2 separate regions of the Homo sapiens genome follow, and region 1 is linked to region 2. Evidence: promoter capture Hi-C in human tissues and cell types (Jung and others, 2019). All regions are on one chromosome and are shown on one strand. The core of a region is centred on a gene start or on the middle of the fragment in contact, and the rest is flanking DNA. Distances in the headings are between cores, read along the strand shown. Region 1 has its middle 6.2 kb from the start of LINC01627. Region 2 holds the start of TOMM5 (translocase of outer mitochondrial membrane 5).

Evidence for each region. Contacts are between HindIII fragments. The study calls those that stand out against the background at their distance.
Region 1: a contact is called between a fragment that was not itself captured here and the fragment with the promoter of TOMM5 in region 2, in 1 of the 25 tissues and cell types used here (bladder).

What each region holds. Positions count from the first base shown.
Region 1 is chr9:37,397,497-37,404,588 of GRCh38, forward strand. No RefSeq gene overlaps it. Among named protein-coding and RNA genes, the nearest start is that of LINC01627, 6.2 kb to the left of the region's middle. RefSeq lists enhancers at 1,465-1,524, 5,593-5,762. The HindIII fragment of the contact is 4,058 bases long and covers 1-3,368 here.
Region 2 is chr9:37,590,752-37,598,083 of GRCh38, forward strand. TOMM5 (translocase of outer mitochondrial membrane 5) reads right to left here and starts at 1,846. Exons shown (of 2, transcript NM_001001790.3): 1 at 1,661-1,846. The coding sequence starts at 1,781. RefSeq lists an enhancer at 1,443-2,202 and silencers at 3,161-3,455, 3,855-3,924. The HindIII fragment of the contact is 28,692 bases long and covers 1-7,332 here.

The sequences.
Region 1 (7,092 bases), core at 90-2,589, 190 kb before region 2:
ATTTGACCAATGGTTATTCCTGAGTAGTAGAATTATGGATGGCTTTTTCTATTTTCTTTTTTTAATGAAAAATGAATAAAATAAAAGTTGTCCTGCTAGGGCTACCATAACAAAATACCACAGACTGGACTGGGTGGCTTAAACAATAGAAATTTATTTTCTCACAGTTCTGGAGTCTGGAAGTCCAAGTTCAAGATGCTGGCAGGCTTAGTTCTTCTGAGGCCTCTCTCCTTGGCCTGCCGACAGCCACCTTCTTGCTATGTCTTCCCACGGCCTTTGCCCTGTGCACACGTGTCCCTGGTGTCTTTCTTCTTTTAAGGACATCAGTCATATTGCGTGAGGGTCCCACCCTTGTGACCTCATTTTACCTTAATTACCTCCTTAAAGACCTTGTTTCCATATACAGTCACATTGGGGTTTAGGGCTTCAACCTATGAATTTTGGGGAAACACAATTTAGTCTATAACAAAAGTTAGTTTGAAAAGAAAAAGAAAGTAGGCCGGGCATGGTGGCTCATGCCTGTAATCCCAGGAATTTGGGAGGCCAAGGCGGGCTGATCACTTGAGGTCAGGAGTTCAAGACCATCCTGGCCAACATAGTGAAACCCCATCTCTACTAAATAAATAAATAAATAAATAAATAAATAAATAAATAAATAAATAAATAAATTAGCCAGGCATGGTGGTGAGTACCTGTAGTCCCAGCTACTCAAGAGGCTGAGGCATGAGAATTGCTTGAACCAAGGGGGTGGAGGTTGCTGTGAGCTGAGATGGTACCACTGCACTCCAGCTTGGGCGACAGAGCAAGACTCTGTCTTAAAAAAAGTAAAGCTTGTTAAAGCAGTGCTCTTACAAAAGGACACACACAGTTCTTAGGATGAATTTTGTCAGTTTCACCCAACAGTTAATTTCTGTGCTATGCAACCTTTCCCAGAGCTTAGAAAAAAGTTAAAAATTTTCCAATTAATTTTACACACTTTGCATAACTCCAATACTAAGACTTGATTTTTAAAAGAGCACAAGATAAAGTGTATCTATCTAAAATCAAGAATCAACATCATACTAATGATAAAACACTAAACCCCGTCTAGAGGAGTTTGGATTAGAGTCAGAATGAAGACAAGGGTGTCAGTTAGGTATCAGCAATGCTAGCTGCTGTGAGGAACATAACTCCAAACCTCAATGGCTGAACACAATGGAAGTAAATTACTTGTTTACACAAAGAGCAGTGAGAATCCCTGGTTAGCCAGCTGCCTCCCATGTGGCCATTCAGGGACCTCCACTGCTTGTGCCATCCCCCAGAGCCACTGCCAGCTCCTCTGACGGCAAACAGGAAGAAAGACAGTAGAGGATCTTGTGGGAGGTTTTATGGGCCAACCGGGCAAGGCACCTGTATCACCTCCACCCACAGTCCAGTGGCTAGAACCTGGTCACGCGGCCACTCCTAACTGCAAGGGAGGCTGAGAAATGTTACCTCCTTCCGTGCCCAGCAGGAAAAAGAAACAGGTGACGTTGCAGCATTTCTTGCAGAATACCCCACTGTCGTCTCTGGGACTTTTGTTGACAAATCACTGATGTTTTCTGCACATCCTGATTTGCAGCAGGCAGTGACTACTACCTGAGCACCATCCCAGTTTCAGAGATTAAAAATGTGAAAAACTTGGAGTTGATGAAATACTCGATAGGAATAGTAGGTGAAGCTGTAGGAGATGCTGCGCTTGTAAAAGGCCCACGGATGAGCCAGGGCTTTCCGGGCATAACCCCAAGGCCAAAAACATAAGTGATAGACTAACTATATAAAAACAAAAAAATCCCTTATATCAAAAAAGAACATTGAAAGGAGAAGGGCCCACTGTGGGGGAAATATTTGCAATGTGTGATAGAGAATGAGCAGGCTTGCTATTTAAAGAGCCCTTACAAATCAAGAGTGAAAAAGGTGAAGAAAATGGACAAATAACAGTAACAGGAAATTAATAAAAGAAGAACTAAAAATGGTTAAATATGTTAACTATGTAAAACTATTTAGTAGTCAAAGAAGCACAAATTAAAACTACCATGTAATACCACGTTTTACCATCAGATTGGCAGAGATGTGAAAATTGATAATGGTGTTTGCAAAGACTGGCAAGTAAAGGCTATTAACCCTCTGGAAAGGGAAAGATGGGTGCCCTGTTTACCACTGTGGGTGATACGGTCTTGAAAACACTTATGCCTGTTGACCCAGCAGTCCCACCTCTGGAATTTATCCTAAGGAAACAAATGAAGAGATGTGAAAGACATATGTTCAAGGCTGCTAATCTCAGGGGAGCTTTTAAATTTAACTTTAATTTGTATCAAGTTATACATGCACATGATTTCAAAGGTCAAAAAATTCTACAAGATTTGTTACAAAAATCAGCAATTCCCTGAAGCCACTCCCCCAGTCATGGCCCTGCTCTGCTTTTTCAGTCCCAGAGATACTTTTTTTTTTTTTTTCTTTTTTGAGACAGGGTCTCACTCTGTCTCCCAGGCTGGAGTGCAGTGGCATGATCTCGGCTCACTGTAGCTTCGACCTCCAGGGTACAAGTGATTTTCCCTTCTCAGCCTCCTGAGTAGTGGGAACCACAGGCATGTGCCACCATGCCCAGCTAACTTTTATCATTTATCCTAGACAGGGGTCTCCCTGTGTTGCCCAAGCTGGTCTTGAACTCCTAGGCTCAAGCAGTCCTCCTGCCTTGGCCTCCCAAACTGTTGGGATTGCAAGCATGAGCCACCATACACAGCCTCAGAGATACTATTTCAATCCTTTAAGTATTTAGTGTATTTTCTCTAAATACCATGCTTATATTGCTACTTCTTGATTTTTCAGGTTTATACATTATATAGTGATTTTTCATTATGGAAGGGGAGAATTTGGCTCTCATCAATCACTCACTCACAATACCCCCCACCCTGGAACAAAACGCATATTAATACATGTATTCCCACCCCCCACAGCCTCCCAATATAGTTATTTGTCATTCTGATCAGATCAATATTCGTTATTTGCTTTATTCTGACTGCAAATCTGTTTTCAAGATTTTCAGAGTTAATAATTGTCTTGCTTTTTTTTTTTTTTTTTTTTGAGACAGAATCTCTCTCTGTCCCCCAGACGGGAGTTTAATGGCACAGTCTTGGCTCACTGAAGCCTCCACCTCCCAAGTTCAAGTGATTCTCCTATCTCAGCCTCCTGAGTAGCTGGGACTACAGGCACGCGCCACCAAGCCCAGCTAATTTTTGTACTTTCAGTAGAGATGGGGTTTTGCCATGTTGGCCACACTGGTCTCAAACTCCTGACCTCAGATGATCCACAGCCTCAGCCTCCCAGAGTGCTGGAATTACAGGTGCGAGCCACTCTACCCGGCCCAATTGTCTCGTTTTTACCATTGGCTTGGTTTACTAATTTTCGTCACTAATTTAACTACAAACTCTTTCTTTCAGAATTTTGAACATATTCCTCCATCATGTTCCGGTTCCCACTGACGCTGTTAAAGAATCCAGTGCCATTCGGATCCATGATCCTTTGTATGAAATCCACTTTTTCTCTGCAAACTTGTAGGATATTTTCTTCATGCCAGATACTTGTGTTCTTCAATTCTGGGTTTTTGAAAACAAAATATTTTTAAAATTACTTTCTTCTTTCTTTTTTTTTAGGACAGAGTCTCACTCCGTCGCCCAGGCTAGAGTGCAGTGGTGTGATCCCAGCTCATTGCAGCCTCAAACCCCTAGGCTCAAGTGATTCTCCCACCTCAGCCCCCCAGGTAGCTAGGACTACAGGTGTGTGCCACCAGTCCTGGCTAATTTTTTAATTTTTTTTTTGAAAACACTTATGCCTATTGACCCAGCAGGTGTGTGCCGCTATGCGTGGCTCATTTTTTATTTTATTTTATTTTATTTTATTTATTTTTGCAGAAGCCATTGATACCATCTAGCTAAGCTAGGTTGAAGATACTTTGGACTCGACAATTCTATATTAGGATACATGCCCTAGAACATCTCTCCCGTGCATGCACAAAAAGATATTGATGCCTGTAATCCCAGTGCTTTGGGAGGCCAAGGCAGAACGATCACTTGAGGTAAGAAGTTTGAGACCAGCCTGGGCAACATAACAAGACACTGTTTTTACAAAAAAAAATTAAAAATGAGCCAGGCATAGAGGCATGCACCTGTAGTCTTGGCACTCAGGAGGCTGAGGTGGAAGGATAACATGAGCCCAAGAGTTTGAAGTTACAGTAACTATGATCATGCTGCTGTATTCCAGCCTGGGTGACAGAACAAGACACTGACTTAAAAAAAAAAAAAAAAAAGACATTTACAAGAATGCTATGGCAACGTTGTTTATAAGGACAAATACAAGAGAAAGATATAATAAATACTTATTGACAGGGGAATGAATAAAGATGGCACAGTTATACAAAACATATACAATATTGAGTAAATACACAAGACATATAAGGATGCCATGACATACACAAGACATACACAGCCAGCCATGGTGGCTCACACCTGTAATCCCAGCACTTTGGAAGGCTGAGGCAAGAGGATCACTTGAGCTCAGGAGTTCAAGACCAGCCTGAGCAACATCACAAGACCTTGTCTCTACTTAAAAAAAAAAAAAAAAAAAAAAAAATTGGCCGGGCGCGGTGGCTTACGCCTGTAATCCCAGCACTTTGGGAGGCCAAGGCGGGAGGATCACAAGGTCAGGAGATCGAGACCATCCTGGATAAAATGGTGAAACCCCATCTCTACCAAAAAAAAAAAAAAAACAAAAAAATTAGCTGGGCGTGGTGGCAGGCGCCTATAGTCCCAGCTACTCGGGAGGCTGAGGCAGGAGACTGGCGTGAACCCGGGAGTCGGAGCTTGCAGTGAGTGGAGATTACACCACTGCACCCCAGCCTGGGCAACAGAGCGAGACTCCGTCTCAAAAAAAAAAAAAAATTAACTAGGCTTGGTGGTGTGCACCTGTAGTCCTGGCCACTCAGGAGGCTGAGATGGGAGGTTTGCTTGAGCCTGAGGAATTTGAGGCTGCAGCAAGCTATGATTGCACCACTGCGCTCTAGCCTGCGGGACAGAGCAAGACCCCATCTCAAAAAAGAAGAAAGGGGAAAAAATTGCAATCCTACTTAAAATTGCAATATTCCACCACCCCTGCCTCTCCAGCTTCCCTTATTTTTTCCCTCTGTACTTCTCACGTTGTAACATATTAATAATGTATCTCAGTTTCATACCTTTTGTTTATGGTTTGGCTCACCCCACCAGAATGTGTGTCCCATGAGAGCAGTAATCCTCTCTGTTGTTTACGGATGTTCCCAGGGCTTAGGTTGGTGCCTCACATACAGTAGGTTCTCAATATGTATATGTTTGTGAGTTTATGAATGAATAAAAGACAGAAACCGCTACTGAAAGTTTAAAACCATGCAAAGCAATACCACTTATCATTTATGGATAAACACGCAGTTCAGGTTTGGGTTACCCCTGGTGACAGAGGTGGGGAACAGGATCAGGAAGGGACACCCAAGAGTCTTCCAGTGTCCCCGTAAGATTTATTTCCTAAGCAGGGCAATAGAGATGGAAATGTTTGTTATATTATTATCAACAAGTTTTGCATGGCAGAGAAATTCTACAGCTTGAAAAAAAAGAAAAAAAAAAGGAACAGCCAGCACCTGCAGCAGGTGTTAGAGTTTCCCAGGGTTTTTCCACATGACCTCATGGGACAGGGGTGCACAGGGGGCTTCCTGTAAACCCAGCTCAGAGCCAGGTGGGGCCTGGGACTGGGGGTTCTTCCAGAGCTCCCTAACAGGGGGGAAATCCCAGTCAGATCAAGAGAGGAAGGGGCAGCCTAGGAGGCCACCTCTTCTGGGTGAGATGGGGAGAGTGGGCCAGAATGAAGCTTGATCTTACACTGTCTTAGTAACAGCCCAACAAGTTCTAGCCCGTTGCCCAGGTAGAGCCGATTTATCAAGACAGGGGAATTGCAATAGAAAGAGTTTAATACATGTAGAGCTGGCTAAACAGGAGACTGGAATTTATTATTACTTAAATCAGCCCCTCGAAAATTCAAAAATGGGTCTTTTAAGGATGATTCAGCAGGTCTGGGACCAGGGATTGGGGAGTGCGTATTGGTCAGACTGAAGATGAAATCATACGGGGGTTGAAGTCGATTTTTTTTTTTTTTTTTTTTTTTTTGGAGATAGAGTCTCCCTCTGTCACCCAGGCTAGAGTGTGGTGGCGCGTTCTCGGCACACTGCAGCCTCTGCCTCCCGGGTTCAAGCAATTCTCCTGCCTCAGCCTCCCAAGTAGCTGGGATTACAGACATGCGCTACCATGCCCGGCTAATTTTTGTATTTTTAGTAAAGATGAGGTTTCACCATGTTGGCCAGGCTGGTGTCGAACTCCTAACCTCAAATGATCTGCCCACCTCGGCCTCCCAAAGTGTTGGGATTACAGGCGTGAATCATCCGCCTGAAGTGGATTCTTGCTGTCTTCTGTTCCTGGGTAGGATCGCAGAACTGGTTGAGCCAGATTACAGGCCTGGGTGGCACCAGTTTGTGCATCAGAGTGCATCAGCAGTGCAGGGTCTGAGAAATACCTCAAGTGCCAATCTTAGGTTTTACAATCGCGATGTTATCCCTAGGAGGAACTGGGAAGGTTCAGAATCTTGTAGCCAGCTGCGTGACTCCTAAACCATAATTTCAAATCTTATGGCTAACCTGTTAGTCTTACAAAGACAGTCTGGTCCTCAGGCAGGAAGGGGTTTGTTTAGGGAAAGGGCTGTTAGCATCTTTGTTTCAAAGTTAAACTATAAACTAAGTTCAGCCTATGCCCAGGAATGAACAGGGCAGCTTGGAGGTTAAAGGCAAGATGGAGTTGGTTAGGTCAGATCTCTTTCTCTGTCATAATTTTTTTGTTGTTTTTTTTTTTGAGTTGGAGCTTCGCTCTTGTTGCCCAGGCTGGAGTGCAGTGGTGCGATCTTGGCTCACTGCAACCTCCACCTCCCAGGTTCAAGCGATTCTCCTGCCTCAGCTTCCCAAGTAGCTGGGATTACAGGCACCTGCCCAGCTAATTTGTTCATATT
Region 2 (7,332 bases), core at 596-3,095:
TGGGAGTTGCAAGAAGCTGTTGAACTAGGATGATACGGGTGTTTCTGTTCCCCAAGACTCGCTCTTCTGTGAAAGCAGAGTAATACCATAGACAGTGAAAGAGACACAGAATAAGGGACATCTCAGTATCAGTGAGCTCTGGCCTAAGCCCAACATGAGCCTTCAATAGGATGACTTTGGTATGGCCTTCATTTATTTGAACCATCCCTGCCGCTCCATCCAGACTGGCTGGCCAATAATATACAGCAAGGAACAATGGAAAGGATACTGAATTGAGAACGAGAAGGCAGGGCATTCGAGAACTGATCATAAAGCTGCTTCCAGTTCTTATATTCAGTGTTCCTATAACTCTGATACCTTCCTTCCTTGCTAAGTCCCCTCTGAAAATCAAGTTCTCATTTGTAAAATGATATAAAGAATCTTAGGCCCTGCCTCCCTCAAAGGTCCACTGTCAAGACTATATAATGGGAGTAACTTCCTGTCAATTTTAAGATATAGAAAAAAAAACCTCAAATATTTGCATTAATCCTATAGACTCATATTCTTTTTTCCCATTTTTTTCCAAAAAACTAATGACTCACTTCACCCTCTATACAAAGAAACAGAAATGAAGCAAAACTTTTTGGATTTCAAAGGTCAGCACTTTTGAAAGGGAAGGAACCCGGCCGCTGGTTCACGCCTGTAATCCCAGCACTTTGGGAGGCTGAGGCAGGTGGATCACCTGAGGTCAGGAGTTCGAGACCGGCCTGGCCAACATGGTTAAACACCCATCTCTACTAAAAATACAAAAATTAGCCGGGCGTGGTGGCGCGCGCCTGTAATCTCAGCTACTTGGGAGGCTGAGGTGGGAGAATGGCTTGAACTCGGGAGGCAGAGGTTGCAGTGAGCCAAGACTGCGCCACTGCACTCCAGCCTGGGCAACAGGGCGTGACTGTGTATCGAGGAAAAAAAAAAAAAAGAAAAGAAAAGAAAGGGAAGGAACCTGGTACTGAGTTAAGAGTTCTGGATTTTAGGTCAAGATCATTCACTGAATCGCTGAGTGACCTTTGGCCAGCCTTCCCAAGAAGGCTGTTTCTTCCTTCTAGAACTATGGTTCTGTTTCTCTGTTTCTCTGTCTGCAAAAACGAGGGAGTTCCTCTAGGGATAATTACTTGAGCTCTTTCAGCTCAAACATTCTTTTTTTTGAGATGGAGTCTTGCTCTGTCACTCAAGCTGGAGTGCAGTGTCGCGATCTCGGCTCACTGCAACCTCCGCCTCCTGGATTCAAGCAATCCTCCCACCTTAGCCTCCCGAGGAGCTGGGATTACAGGCGCCCGCCACCACGAACTCCTGACCCCAAATGATCCGCCCGCCTCGGCTTCACAAAGTGCTGGGTGGGATTACAGGTGTGAGCCAACGCGCCCGGCAGCTCAAACATTCTTCAAGCTGGGAGAACCAGGATGATTAAACACGCGCGCCGGCCACCACGTGCACTTCAGTGCCCGGACCCTGACCCGCAGACCTCAAACCGCGCATATGCCCGTCGCCTTCAACGCGCACCCTCCTTGCTCCCCGCTACCGTTCAGCTCAGTTCGAAGGCCCCGATGACCCCTTAGAGTTAAGGGGTGCCCGTCGGTGAGCTCCCCGCTGGTCTCACAGTCACAGCCCGGGAGACACTCACTGACTCGCAGGAGGGCCACGTAGATGAGAAAGTTCCGTATGGAGGAGATCACATCCTCGCGCATCTTCCGTTTCATCTCCTCCGGGTCCAGCTTCGGCGCGAGGCCCTCAATCCGGAACATCGCGGCTCTGACTTAGCAGCTTCCAGCCGCCGCGCTCTGCTCTCCACGGTGGCCGCCTCGCGCCCGGAACTCGGCCTATCCTCACTTCCTGTTCCCGCCCTCTCGTTGCCACACTCGACGATGGATGCCTGCACGGGACAATCCACGTCCTGACCCAGCTGATCTGAAGTGCGGTGTGAAGCGGGCGGCCGCAAGCTCAGCAACGCAGGCTCTGGTTTCTCCACGCTGTCTTTAATAACATCTGTCATACAAAAATCAGCCCGGCTCGGTGGCGCGTGCTTACAATCCCAGCTACTCGGGAGGCTGAGGCAGGAAAATCGCTTGAACCCAGGAGGGGGATGTTGCAGTTAGCCGAGATCGCGCCACTGCGCTCCAGCCTGGGCGACAGAGCGAGCGAGACTCCGTCTCAAAATAATAATAATAATAATAATAATAACAACAACAATAACATCTATCTTGAGCCTGGAGCGCTGCGCTGTAAAGTGCTTTTACGCGCTGGAGGGGGCTGTGCACATAGGTACCACTGTAAACAGTGATAACTAACATTTATTGAATATTCAATATAATTGTCCCCCGTGAATTCGATATTATAATCTTCGTTTCCTAGATTAGACAATTGAAGCACAGAGATCTTTAAAACATCTTGCCCAAATGTGCTTTAATTTTTATTTATTTTTTTATTGCTAATTGTGGTGGTTGAGACTGTTCTGGAACTCCTGGGTTCCAGGATCCAAGCGATCCTCCCGCCTCGGCCTCCCAAAGTGCTGGGATTACAGGCGTGAGCTATCGCGCCTGGCCCCCAAATGTGCTTAAAAATACCTCAGAGGGGGAAAAAAGTATTGAGAGAGATAAGTGATGTCAGCAAAATATTAAAAACTGCTGGTGACTAGTACTTCATTTTAGTTAATTATTCTAGTCTTTCTTGAGTATGTTTGAAACTTTACATAAGTTAAAACAAAGAGACAAAGATGAAACTTTTTTTTTTTTTTTTTTTTTTTTGGAGACAGAGTCTCGCTCTGCCGCCCAGGCTGGAGTGCAGTGGCGCAATTTCAGCTCACTGCAACCGCTGCTTCCCAGGTTCAAGTGATTCTCCTGCCTCAGCCTCCTGAGTAGCTGGGATTACGGTTGCGCAGCACCACGCCTGGCTAAATTTTGTATTTTTTGTAGAGACGCGGTTTCACCATGTTGGCCAGGCTGGTCTTGGAAACTCCTGATCTCAGGTGATCTGCCCACCTCGGCCCCCAAAAGTGCCGTGATTACAGGCATGAGCCACCGCACCTGGCCTTTTTACAGATTATTGAAGCACAGAGGTCTTTAAAATACTGTTAGCCAAGTAACACAATATGTATAAAGCAAGTTCAAATCTGATCAGCATTTTACAGATGAATAGAAAGAGGCTCAGAAACCAAGTCCAGCTTTGGTGTGAAGCCCTTTATCTGGAACATCGCAGCTGAAGTCTAAAGTGCACTAAAGTCTAGTCATTCTGCTGGTGATGCACGGGCAGGGTTCTAATGCAGATAATTATCATGTCAAGTTGAATTATCTTTCCCCTGCACCCTACTGCTCATCTGTTAGTCTTTAACAGTTAGTGCCCACATGGATGGACATCGCTAGAGTCAAGAGTTTGATGCAACCAGATTTCCTGTCACAGAAGCATCCAAACAGAGTTAGTAGGCTGCTGCCCCAAGTTACGCATGCCAACTAGCCATATCTACTTCTTACACGCAAGCCAGATGACTGAATTGCTCACATAATTCAAAACCAGAATGTTCCTTCTTGACTGCATATTGCATAGCAACAATGGACTTTGGATAAATTAGGACAATAATTTACTATGAGAGCAACTAATAACTATATGCACGGTCAACTTTCTGGTTGACAGAATGTAAGGCACTGGGGCAAGAAAGGGAACTCATCTGCTTATTCCAGCTTTAGCAACCTTTTGCATCTGTAATTCATGCAATGGAATAGCAGAGGCAGCTCTGGAATGGGAGGGGCTGACTCCCAAGGAATAGCCTCCAGCCAACCCTTGGTGAGTGTTTAGAAAGCCTGCAGTGATGTTGAAAGCAGCAAGAACTGCGGAAAGAACATGAACAGGAACACTGGAGACATGGACTCTAGATCTGGCACTGCTGCCAACTAGTGGTGTGATGAGGGACGAGTATCTGATTTCACTGCAACTCCATTTCTTTCTTCTTCTTTATTTATTTATTTATTTATTTATTTTAGACTGAGTTTTGCTCTGTCGCCCAGGCTGGAGTGCAGTGGCGTGATCTTGGCTCACTGCAACCTCTGCCTCCCGGGTTCAAGCGATTCTCCTGCCTCAGCCTCCCGAGTAGCTGGGACTACAGGCGTGTGCCACTACGCTCGGCTAATTTTCTTTTTTCTTTTTTAAGAGATGAAGTTTTGCTCTGTCGCCCAGGTTGGAGTGCAGTGGTGTGATCATAGCGCACTGCAACCTCACACTCCTGGGCTCAAGCAGTCCTTCTCCTGCCTTAGCTTCCTGAGTAGTTGGGACTACTGGCACGTGCCACTACACCTGGTTATTTTTTTCTATTTTGTTAGAAATAGAATATTGCTGTGTTGTCCAGGCTGGTCTCAAACTCCTGGGCTCAAGTAATCCTCTTGCCTCAGTCTCCTGACCGAGGCATGAGCCACTGCACCCAGTTCTTCCATTTGTTTAGTTGGAAAGGGAAGGCATATATTGAGATGCTTTTGAAAGTTTCTTCCAGTTCTAACAGTCTATGCATTTTTTAAAACCACCTATGCATCTTGAATTTTAATTGTGTCATCTAGAACTTTCTGTTATGGAGTGTATGACTTTGAAAATATCATCAAATATGGTCAGACATCAAAATGGTCAGTGTGTGTGTGTGTTCCACGATAGGATGGATGTAAAAATAAGGCATATCTCATCCATCCGAATAGTGAGGCAAAGTGATTGGGAAGGGGTGAGTTCTTGTTACGTGGTTCCAGTAACTTCAACCCCTAATGCTGATAAAATTTAGAAAAACAGCTCACATATGAAACTATCAATTTATTTTCTCTGCAGAGATGCTTTTGAGTAACTTTCATAGGAAATGAAAGACGGGATAAATTAGCCAAAAATAATGTTTCTTGGTGAAAAGAACAGATTTTAAGCATTTGAATTTTATTCCCTAAATTAAAGCAGTACTTTCTTAAATTAATTTTTTGAGACAGGGTCTCGCTATGTTGCCCAGGCTATTCTCAAACTCCTGGGCTCAAGGGATCCTCCTGCCTCAGCCTCCCAAGTAGCTGGGATACAGGCAAGCGCCACCATGCCCAGCTAAAGCAGCACCTTTACACCCGGTAGGTGATATGGTAGCAAACGGCTAGCCTGTTAAAGGGCAGTATTATTTTCATAACAATTTTCTTAAGTCTGGTGCTTGCGTACCTGTAGAGACAGAAGTAGGTAGTGGATAGAAATATGGGGTAGCTAGATCTTGGAGTGAAGAATTGGTGTTGGTTACAGGCTAGGAGGATGACCCATTCCTGTCTCAGATACGTTCCTCCTGGTGAATTCAGTTTTCCCCTTGCATGGTTCATCTAGTTGTAATGAAGGAAACTCATGAAAAGAGATTCGCTTCTCTTTTTTGGCTTTTTAAAAAAGTGCTTATTTATTTGGCATGTAGGTGGTGGTATTGTCCAATGACAGTGGGTTTAGGTGAGGCAAATTGAGAAAATATGCTTCAGGAAGTCAACATTGGATGGAGCTATTTCATATCTTGGACCCCTCATTCTTCCTCAATGATGGGATGATTAGAGGTTGGGTCTAATCTTTAAAGTTGCCCACATTTCTAAAAATGCTGTAATTCTGTGTTCATCTTTCCTGTTCTTCCTACATAACCTTGAACTAAAAGCTAAGAGCAAAGGATTCACTGTGATTTGCCGTGGAAGGCAAAAATAAAAAGTATGCGCGCATAATTTAATATTGATATTTGTATTATTTAGTCTGATCACAGAGGAAATGGGAGCTGATGTCACAGCCTGTCTTGTTTTCCATTTAGATCCCAGGAGGGATTAAAGAGCCATTTCCTTTGCCTCGACTTCCCAGACAGTACAGTACACATCATTCAGAGTGTACAACCTACTCATAAGAGAATTAAGTGCTTTAATTTTCATCACTGGTGAGGAATTTGTATTTGCAAGGTCAGAGATTGACTGATGACTCATGATTGGGGAATAAATCCAACATAAAATCACAGGAAGTTTGTGATTCCTAATTTATAGGGAGCTATATAGGCTTTGAGTATTGAACAGTTCAACCCCTTCATTTGGCAGATGGGGAAACTGAGGCCCAAAGGGACGCTAGTTAGAACTGGCTTGGACTAGGATAGGTCTCTGGGCTCCCAGTTTAGCCCCTTTCCCCATCGTACCTTGTTGGTTTCGATACTTTAACTGTGAATATTCTCATTGACGATCCTCCCCTCAGAAGTAAAGATGAAAAGAATGGAGTGTTGTTAAACCCCAGCTTGGGAGGGACAGGATAAGGGGTGGCTGTTACTCATCAATAGACTACAGGCAGCCCTTCTTTCCACATTGCCTCACCCATCACCAGTTGTTAATCTGGACTGTGTTATTATCCAGTCCCACACCTCTCCTTCCTCATTCCTTCAGGAGGTGAACATGGCCTGGAATTCCTAAAATAAACTTGACTTTAAAGTCCACTCAGAACCAAGATGAATGAAATAAGGGTCAGGACAAAGAAAGGACCCTTGGGCTCTCAGTAAGGATTGTTCCATGATAGATGCTAACCAGAGTCCTCACCTAGCAGAGAGGATAACTTACTTCTAGAAATTACTGCTCACTAAGGGACAGATGCCTCTTTAGGAAGAGGGGACCTTTGAACCTTAAAGGGAGGTAGAATGTTGATAACCTTCACCTCACTGGCATTTGCTTTCTATGACACCCCGTTCTCAGTTCTAACCTTTAGGGCTTTGTTGTCTGGATAATTCATGAATATTTGATCTCTTGCCATGTAGACTGCAAGCACCTCAAGTACAAGGAACATGTCATCGCTCATTCTTTCATCCTCCAAGCAACCGAGGACAGGTATTTACATGGTAGAAACTCAGTAAGTACCCCCAAGTGAATGAGTGAATGAATGCATTTCATATCTACTAGTGTTTAGAATTTAAAAATTGCTGGCTTTGTATATTAGATTGAAAGGAAATTGTCCCCAAAAGAAATTTCCCTCAAATACTACATAGTATTATTATTATTATTTTGACACAGAGTCTTGTTCTGTTGCCCAGGTTGAAGTGCAGTGGCATAATCTCGGCTCACTGCAACCTCTGCCTTCTGAGTTCAAGCAATTCTCCTGCCTCAGCCTCCTGAGTAGCTAGGATTACAAATGTGCACCACCACGCCTGGCTAATTTTTGTATTTTTAGGAGAGATGGGGTTTCACCATGTTGGCCAGGCTGGTCTCGAACACCTGACCTCAAGTGATCCACCCACCTTGGCCTCCCAAAGTGCTGAGATTACAGGCATGAGCCTCCACACCCGACCCTACCTATTAGTCTTATATA